Regions from separate parts of the Homo sapiens genome. Here region 1 is linked to region 2. Evidence: promoter capture Hi-C in human tissues and cell types (Jung and others, 2019). All regions are on one chromosome and are shown on one strand. Each heading gives the region's core, a stretch centred on a gene start or on the middle of the fragment in contact. The rest is flanking DNA. Distances are from core to core; before and after follow the strand shown. Region 1 overlaps PKP4 (plakophilin 4). Region 2 holds the start of GALNT5 (polypeptide N-acetylgalactosaminyltransferase 5).

Region 1 (4,679 bases), core at 1,665-4,164, 1.4 Mb after region 2:
ACCACTAGCACTATAATATCAAACTAGTGATCAAGTATAATCATAAAGCTTCAGTTTGCTTAGGAAGTCTATGAAACGTGATTTTAGGTCTTGCGTCTATTTCAAGATTTATAGTTTTGAGTATGAAAAGATTCAACCCTCTAAGTGGAATATGACCCTGTATTTTGAGTGTAGGCTTCCGAGTGCCAAGCACAAGGAGGCAGTCAAGTAGGGAGTCTCAGAAGGTCACTTATAAGACTTGGGTATTCAAACATCAGTCAGAGTGGAACTTCTCAGCAAAAGAGAGGCCCTGTAATAACATGCTCCCTCAGTTGACTAGACGTCCTACAAATGCAAGAAAGGTGGGAATATGGAGACCCCAGGCCAGGTCCTGCAAATGCTTTGCAGTTTCTGAGTATGATGCTCTATAGCTTGCAGCTGGAGGCACCTTTGTCTCTAAGCTTCTGCCAGCACCAGACAACTGGGTTGAAGATCTAGTGCAGTTACAGATGAGCAAGTGTGTTCCTGGAACATGTAGGTCAGCTGTGGAGTATATGACTTCAGTGACAGTTTCTTGGGCAAATCTCTATGATAGTGTAACTGTGACAGTATAAATGACCTAATTCTGTGTCACACTGAAATAACCTGCAGAACAAGGGTGGCCAGGGCCGCTGCCCCCACTGCCGTTTCTGCCCCAGAAGGATTCTCTAATTTCCTTTCATGTGACCTGTTCCCTTTTATTAGCTCTGCTTCAACAGAAGGAGCCACTCTGTGTGTCCCATATGGGCAATTCTCAGTCAGCATTTCTGAATTGTAAGCTTATTTATTTTCTGTAGAAATGCCTTTCCAGGGAACATAGAACTGTATAACTACATTATGTCATTAATCCTCAAAACATATCCAAGAAGTGGTAAAATTACCTAGAATAAAGAAGAATACATTAAAATGCAAATATGATTCTGTAAATGGATCTCTAAAAGTTGGTAGATCTTTTCAAAGGTGCTGTGATCCACCTTTATGCCTGCAAAATCGCAGAGACTCGGGCTAACCCTTATATTCTCTAAAGGCACTAAAGATCTATCTTGTCCCAACTGGGGACAAATTTCAGCAGCAGGAATGGTCACCTTCAACTGGAATATGCAGGCTGGGGCCCCTGTGTGCAGCCTCTGTGACCAGCCCAGTTCCTTACTTCCACACAGCTCCCTCCTAGGAAGCATCTTGCCCTCAGACCACCTGAGCACCCACTTCCCACTGCGCTGAAAGCTGAGATGGTGGTGTTCCGAGCACAGCTGGACCTGAGTGAGCTCCCCCGTGCCCCATGAGGATTATGCATCTGCTGTGCAGGAAATCCCAGAGAACACAGGGGTGAGCAAGGCAGGCCTGTCCACCACCTGCAGTGCTCTGTGCCAGGCAGCAGGGAGTGCAGCAACTGGCCTCTCATGCTTTGGGGCAGGAAGGAGAAAGCCTCAAGCCACACCTATAGACCAGGAGCCTCACTGCATGGAGGGGTCACTGCACAGGTTTCAGGAACTCTGCTCAGATAGTGGCATCTTAGAAACTCTGGGAATGGCTATATACCACCACAACTTGTTTTCCTCAGCATTTATCCAGAGAAAGGTATTTTTCTATAACTGAGGATAGTAGTTTTATCCCTGTCTCGTAATTGTTTTCCCACTATTTCAGTTTCACTTAGATTTCGTAATTTGTTGACAGCCTTCAGCCCTGTTAGAAAGCTTGGGCAATTGATTAGCCCAGCAGACAGTTTTATGGCACTGATTCTCCCCACCACCCCCTTGACTTCCTCATTTCTGTTAACAGTGCCATATTTTCACACGTATTCAAACTCCTGGCTTACCTGTGACACCACCCTCAGTTTGCATCTGGCTCCAAATTCTCACTACAGGCACTTCCCTTCCCTTTTGGCCTCCTCCCTCCTCCATCCTGTCCTGTGAAATAGGCTCTGCCCCTCCTAGCCCATTGGCCTCACCCCCTCCCTGGGATAACACCTGTGCCTGCAGTTCAGGTTTTCCCACCTGCCTGTCCAAATCAGTAGCTTCTGTGACCTCCTGCCAGCCAGCTCCAGCATGTGCCGTCACCTCTTCTGCTTCTTTCCCAGGCTATATATAGTTGGCCTGAAGAGCTCTGCACCCCAAACCTGCTTCTTTCTGGCCTCTGTCCTTGACACTGCAACTCAAATGTGGTCTCCCATCCTCCTGTCAAACACAAGTTCACACACTTTGAAAAACATCCAAGGAGAAGCGGCATGGTCTCGAGTGAGTGTGAGCTTTGGAGCCAGGTTGACTTGTTTCCTTCCAGCTCTGTGGCTCCAGACACATCACCACTGTCAAACCCCAGTGTCCCCGGCAATGACACATTACCTGCTGCTTGGTGTTTTTGTGATGATGTGTGTTGAGCTCCTGGCACACAGGATATTCAAGCCATACCTGTTGCTCTTCCTGCCCTTTGTCACAACTGCCTGGTGGTGTAACTGTTTGTGGTAAGGCCCCCCTGAGAACAGATGGCTCCCCTGTGTGTCTCCCTCGGAGTCTGGCATGAAGCAAGCAAGCATCTCTGCCAGCGCTGTTCAATAGGAGAATAATATGAGCTGCATATTTTCTACATTTTCTAGCAGCCATGGGAAATCTATTTTAGTAATGTATTTTATTTGGCCTAATAGTTTCAAAGTATTTCAACTTCTAAGAAATATAAAAATTATTAATATTTTGTGTTCACTTCTTCGTACCAAGTCTTCATAATCTGTTTTTTACTCAACAGTGCATCTCAGTTTGGACTAGCCATATTTCAAGTAGCCACATGTGGCTGATGGCCACCGTATGGGGCAGCACAGGTCTATACTGCATTTGGGTAGAGGTAACGTAAATGTCAAAGGTATGAGGTGTGTAACTTTAAGGCTGGCGGGAGGCCATATTGTAGCAGGATGTAGGTGCCATAGCATCTTGGCATTACTCTCGTCCCAAGAAAAAGCCGCAGAAGTTTATAAAAACCCATTGGGCTAAGGGGAGAACTTCAAGGGCAGCTGCATAGAGAAAGAAATGAAGATGTGTGTTTGCTAGATCCTGAGTGTTTCAGCCAGAGACTGTATAGGGAATGATAATGGAGGCATGTGCTAGGAGAAGCAGGCAAGGGCCGTGATACAATCTGCAGCCCTGATATTATTATGTTTGTGCTATTAATCTAATATTTCTACCCCCATTTTTCAAGAATGTTTGCAGGGTGGTTCCAGTGAGCCCATAGATGCAGAATAGCCAGGAGCTGGGGCAGGAGGTGGGGAGGATTACATAAGGAGCAGTGTTCCCCAGAGCTTCAACGGGAATGCACAGTCCTGTTAGCCACTGGTCATGACACTTGCTTTGTACTGGGAATGGAGTGGGGGTTGAGTGTGCACAAGACCTTAGCATCCATTATCTCCTTGATGGTTCCTCACACCCTGAGCCTGGGTAGTTTTACCTGCCTCCATCATGAACGTCTTGTGAAAGAGCACGACTAAAACCAGAGCACTCAGAGCGAGGTTCACTCAAGAAGGAAAATGCAGGGGCCTGTCCAGTGATGATGTTTGAAGCACACTGGCACCTTTATGGCTGTTGCTTTTTTGCTTTTGGCAATGTCTACAAACACTTGGGCTCTTTTTAATATAATTAGGAAACATGGCATAAATTGAATGCTGTCTAAAAATGAGTGGTTTAAGATTGTCTTTCATATCAAAAAGAAAAACAGTTGTATAGGCTGCCATGCATATCTGCCACCAGAGAAATCGCATTTTCCAAATGTTTTGTTTTTTTTAATATCCTTTAAGAAGTACATTTTTCAAATAGTTGCTATTATTTTAATTAATCAGTAAAATCAGCTTCTAATTTGACTATAAAATTATCAGTTCGCCATTAGAATAGCTATAAAGTTAGTTTTAAATGTGAGCTCTTTCAAAATTGTGCAGCATAGGATTTATGTGAAATGGTATTTTAATTACTTTATTCATTCTTTGTGAGGAAAATGAACTTTCATTTCTCATGGCAGTATTTCATTGTGATTATTGGTTACTCATAATTATATGTACTTGTTCCTGTGACAGGGAATAAGCAGCGTTTTCTACAATAATATGCATGAGACTCCCTAATATTTTCTAAATTAGTTTGTATGTTTATATTCTTAGTCCTCACAACAAATAGCTAATTGCTTTAAATTAAATAAAACCTCAAGCTTCCTCAACCAAATTCTAGTTTATTTTTAACTTTCCCTTTGAGAACCAGGAGATAATGGAGTATGGTGATAAATATTTTTGAAGCAAATTTTGCATTAGGATGTTGGAGTTAGAGGTTATCATGTTGATGGAGAAGGCTAATCCTACAGCTCTTCATTTTCTCATCAGTCTTACTACATCTGGGAGTTGGTGTATTCTCTATTCATTACTTACTGCCCTAGCAAGATTCTTCCTGACCCATTAAATGAAGCCCTAGACAAAGTGGAGAGAACATTGTTTTAGTGAGGTCGAGCACACACAGGTGTTATTAGCCGGTCTTAAGAGAGGTGCTTTTTACTTTGAGCAAAAAAGCCAAATTAATCATTTCATATCTAAGGCTTTTAAGTTTAATTAAATCTTTTTCATCCATTATTTATTGACTAGAGCTGGTTGTTTTGGCTTTATATAACCTTAGTTTTGGAATAGAAAGTGAGGAAGAAAAACC
Region 2 (4,953 bases), core at 1,768-4,267:
TGCCATTTGGGGTGGGATGGTGGCTGGACAAGATTGAATCATGCAGAGTAAAATAATTTTAAAGTATTCTATTTTCATGTTTAAAACAATATTGTAATGCAAACCATTTATCCATGATGCTAAAAAAAATTCTCACTTTATTTTCGAATGTGGATGCTAAAGATGTGTGCTATGTTTTTTGCTGGTGGCGTTCTTTTTTTATTATTATTATTATTATACTGGTGGCGTTCTACTGAGGGGAGTTTTAAGGTTGTTAGGGGCAGAGACAATGTCACCTACTTCATGTTTTGGGCATGTAGGGAGTTCTCAGTGAACAATGGTCTTGTTAAATCTATAATTAGAGGAAATAAGAATGGCAAGAATAAAATAAAATACTCAGATTTGTTTCTTCCCCATTGCCAGAATCATGTTAGTCACTAGTTTTCTACTTGTTTTTTTGGGAAGAGCTGGTACATTGCCTCCCACATGCATCCGACACTCCTATTACAGCAAAGTATTAGCAACAATATGAATGGCTAACATTTAAAGAGTACCTTCAATATAACAATAACTTTAACCATTTTTAAATATTCTCACATTAATCTGCAAAGCAGAATTTTTTTTTATTGCTCAGTAACCACATAAAATTAACTAGCCTGCAAGATCATACAGCTAGAGAGCAGTATTGTGTGATATTGAAGCACACGGACTACAGTCGTGTATTCAAGACCCAACCCCTCCAATCTCTACCAGAAGTTGCTTTACCTCTCTAAGGTTTCATTTGCTGACTACAAAATACATATTGTAATTTACTCCTTCACATTAGATTCTTGTGAGGATTGAGTGAGATAGTCAATGGAAAGAACTTAGCAAAGTGCTTGAGATATATATATGAATTTGGAATCTCTCCTTCCCCTCCCAAGTCATTGGGAACATAAGTTTACCTCAAAGCATGGAAGCTAGACCCTCCCCACACTAGAGTAATGAACAGCAGTGTTGTCCACAAATCACTCAGAGTTCCTCAGAGAGAAGGACAGTGGTCCCGAGAAGTGCTTCTCAAACTCTATGGACAATCTTTACAACTGGCAATGTCAAAATGTGTATTCTGATTTAGTTGTTATGGGAATGCATAGATTTTATTAGACTGTACTTTAGACAGGGAAGGAATGTCACACAAGTTGTAGACTGTATTGGCCAGGATTTTTCAGAGAAACAGAACCAATAGGATTCATAGAGGTAGATAAGTGAGTTGCAGTTTATTACAGGAATTGGCTCATGTGGTTATGGAGACTGAGAAACCTCAGTCCAGGCCACCTGCAAGCTGGAGAACCAGGAAAGCCAGTAACATGGCACATTCTGAGTCCAAAGGCCTGAGAACCAGGGAAGCCAATAACATCACTCTCAGTCTGAGGTCAAAAGCCTGAGAACCTAGTGAGGGATGTGGAGGTTGTGGGGGCAGACTGGTACAAGCCCCAGAGGCCAAAGCCAGAGAATCTAAAGTTCTAGTCCAAAGGCAGAAGAAGAAAGATGTCCCAGCTCACTAACAGAGACAGAATCCACCTTTCCTCTGCCTTTTTTTCTATCTGGGCCCTCAACCAATTAGTGGTGCCTGCCCACATTGGGTGAGGGCATCTCCTCCCCACTCAGTGCACTGAGTCAAATGCCAATCTCTTCTGGAAACACCCTCACAGATATACCTAAAAATAATGCTTTACTGGTTCTCTGGGTGTTCCTTAGCCCAGTCAAGTAGACACCTAAAATTAAATGTCTCATAGGCAATGTTCAAAAACCAAAAACAAACAAACAAAAAATTGAGACTTTTTTTCTAGACCAGTGTTTCTCAACTTTAGCTGCACATTTGAAAGACCTGGGAAGCTTTGTAAAAAAAAAAAAAAAAAAAAAAATATATATATATATATATATATATATATATATATATATATATATTTAATACAATATCAGCCCAAATGTCATCTCCACCTCCTCTCTCATCAATTGACCAGAGTTTTGGGGATCTTGTTTCAAGTGGTTCTAATGAAAAGCCTGTGGCGGAACTGCTACCCTACCAGTCAACCAGCATCACTCAAAATCTGGTCCAAGTCCTGGTGTGGTCCTGAAACTGTTGCTTGCTGGTTTAAGACGAGATAAGTACTGAAACTGAGAGTAAGTGTATCTTAATCTGTTCAGGCTACTATAGAAGAATAACATAGACTAAGTGACTCATAAACAACAGAAACTTATTTCTCACAGTTCTAGAGACTGAGAAGTCAGAAATCAAGGCACCAGCAGATTCGTTGACTGGTGAAGGCCCATTTCCTGGTTCATAGATGGCACCTTCTCATTATGTCTTCACTTTGTGGAATGGCAAGGCAATAGGGCCTCTTTTTTAAGGGTGCTGATCCCATTCATGAGGGCTCTATCCTTATAATGAAATCACCTTCAAAAGCCCTACCTCCTAATACTATCACATTTATGATTAGGTTTCAACATATGAATTTTGGGTGGACATAAACATTCAGACCATAACAAAGTGTTTAGAAACTTTTATAGCAGTATGACAAATTAAGTTTATTTGTAATCAAATGTAATAATAAAAACAGATGGATTAGTGAAAAAAAAATAGTTGGCTTACAAAGAAATACATTGAAACCCCTTGAATGAATGATCTAAATAATTAAACATATACATCTCTGGAAGTGAGGATATACCAGGCCCCTTCTTTAAGCTGTTATGTCTTAAAGCTGAAATGTTAACTTCAGTGATAAATTCCTCAGGCAGAGCATTGGCACCTGGCTACAACAGGGTTAATGAGCAGGAGTAGGGTAGGTGGGGTCACAAACCAGGAACACATGCCCTCCAAGTTAGATAGCTTTTTTTCCTCTTTAATTGCCGTTTAAACACACATGCTCTCACATAACACAGAAGGTGAGAGCTGAATGAAGTTTTCTGGGTAATGGCATGAAATGTTTTCCTTATGAGAAGTGGTGTTGAGTTACAGCGTGCAGACGGAGAACGGGGAGGAGAGAAACGGCAGTCTCAATCTGGCCCCCACCTTTTCTTGGGCTTGTAGGAAGGTGGACATGGGCTCCCGGAGACAAGACAAGTGATATGTTGAACTGTTCGGTGGCTGGAATCAACTGCTCCTGGAGTGACCTAAGGCCAGTGTTTATCAGAACTTAGCCAGGGCCAGCCAAGCAGGCACAGATGCTCTGCTATGAAATGCCACGCAGGCAGAGACTGACAAGCGGTAGGAACTGAGCTTTCCCCTTGGACTGCTGCTTCCTGCTGTGTTCAGGGGAGGGGGTCACTTTCTGGCAACTCTGCTGCTGCTGCTGCTGCTGCTGCTACTTCAGCTTCCTCTCCACTCAAGGTAAGCAGGCTAAGGGAGGGCAGGCTGCTAGGGAAAGCTTTGTACCATGAACAGGATCCGAAAGTTTTTCCGAGGAAGTGGGCGAGTCTTGGCATTTATCTTTGTAGCTTCTGTCATCTGGCTCCTCTTTGACATGGCAGCTCTCCGCCTCTCATTCAGTGAGATCAACACTCGGGTCATCAAGGAAGACATTGTGAGGAGGGAGCGGATAGGATTCAGAGTTCAGCCAGACCAAGGAAAAATTTTTTACAGCAGCATAAAAGAGATGAAACCTCCCCTAAGGGGACATGGGAAAGGGGCATGGGGCAAAGAGAATGTTAGAAAAACTGAGGAGAGTGTGCTCAAGGTTGAGGTGGACTTGGACCAAACCCAGAGGGAAAGAAAAATGCAGAATGCCCTGGGAAGGGGCAAGGTTGTGCCGTTGTGGCATCCTGCACATCTGCAGACCCTCCCTGTGACTCCTAACAAGCAGAAGACAGACGGGAGAGGCACCAAACCTGAAGCCTCCTCTCACCAGGGGACACCAAAGCAAACGACAGCTCAGGGGGCTCCAAAGACCTCATTCATAGCAGCAAAAGGAACTCAGGTAGTCAAAATATCAGTACACATGGGACGTGTCAGTTTAAAACAGGAGCCCCGGAAGAGTCATAGTCCCAGCAGTGACACATCAAAACTAGCAGCTGAAAGGGACTTGAATGTGACCATCAGTCTTAGTACTGATAGACCAAAGCAGCGATCACAGGCAGTAGCAAACGAGAGGGCACACCCTGCCAGCACAGCAGTGCCGAAGTCTGGGGAAGCCATGGCCTTAAACAAAACTAAGACTCAGAGCAAAGAAGTCAATGCAAATAAACACAAAGCCAATACGAGTCTTCCTTTTCCTAAGTTCACTGTCAATTCAAATCGCTTAAGGAAGCAATCTATTAATGAGACACCTTTGGGAAGTTTGTCAAAGGATGATGGAGCTAGAGGGGCTCATGGGAAGAAACTCAATTTCTCTGAAAGCCATCTTGTGATTATAACCAAAGAGGAAGAGCAAAAGGCAGACCCCAAAGAGGTCTCTAATTCTAAAACCAAAACAATATTTCCTAAAGTATTGGGTAAAAGCCAAAGTAAACACATTTCCAGGAATAGAAGTGAGATGTCTTCCTCTTCACTTGCTCCACATAGAGTGCCACTGTCCCAAACTAACCATGCTTTAACTGGAGGGCTAGAGCCAGCAAAAATCAACATAACTGCCAAAGCCCCCTCTACAGAATACAACCAGAGTCATATAAAAGCCCTTTTACCTGAAGACAGTGGAACGCACCAGGTGTTAAGAATTGATGTGACACTTTCTCCAAGGGACCCCAAAGCTCCAGGGCAGTTTGGGCGTCCTGTAGTTGTCCCCCATGGAAAGGAGAAGGAGGCAGAAAGAAGATGGAAAGAAGGAAACTTCAATGTCTACCTTAGCGATTTGATCCCAGTGGATAGAGCCATTGAAGACACCAGACCTGCTGGGTAAGACCTATTTCTCTTCTCTTTCCTCAACCCCAAGTGCTTTGGCTGTTATGTAAAGAGGATTTATTGCTAGATAATTCTGTGTGATTTTTGGTCACCTAGAG

The links. Contacts are between HindIII fragments. The study calls those that stand out against the background at their distance.
Region 1: a contact is called between a fragment that was not itself captured here and the fragment with the promoter of GALNT5 in region 2, in 1 of the 25 tissues and cell types used here (IMR-90 fibroblasts).

What each region holds. Positions count from the first base shown.
Region 1 is chr2:158,649,475-158,654,153 of GRCh38, forward strand. All of the region lies in intron 11 of PKP4 (plakophilin 4), which reads left to right. Among named protein-coding and RNA genes, the nearest start is that of PKP4-AS1, 83 kb to the right of the region's middle. The HindIII fragment of the contact is 5,340 bases long and covers 245-4,679 here.
Region 2 is chr2:157,254,688-157,259,640 of GRCh38, forward strand. It overlaps GALNT5 (polypeptide N-acetylgalactosaminyltransferase 5), which reads left to right and starts at 3,018. Exons shown (of 10, transcript NM_014568.3): 1 at 3,018-4,849. The coding sequence starts at 3,396. The HindIII fragment of the contact is 4,009 bases long and covers 709-4,717 here.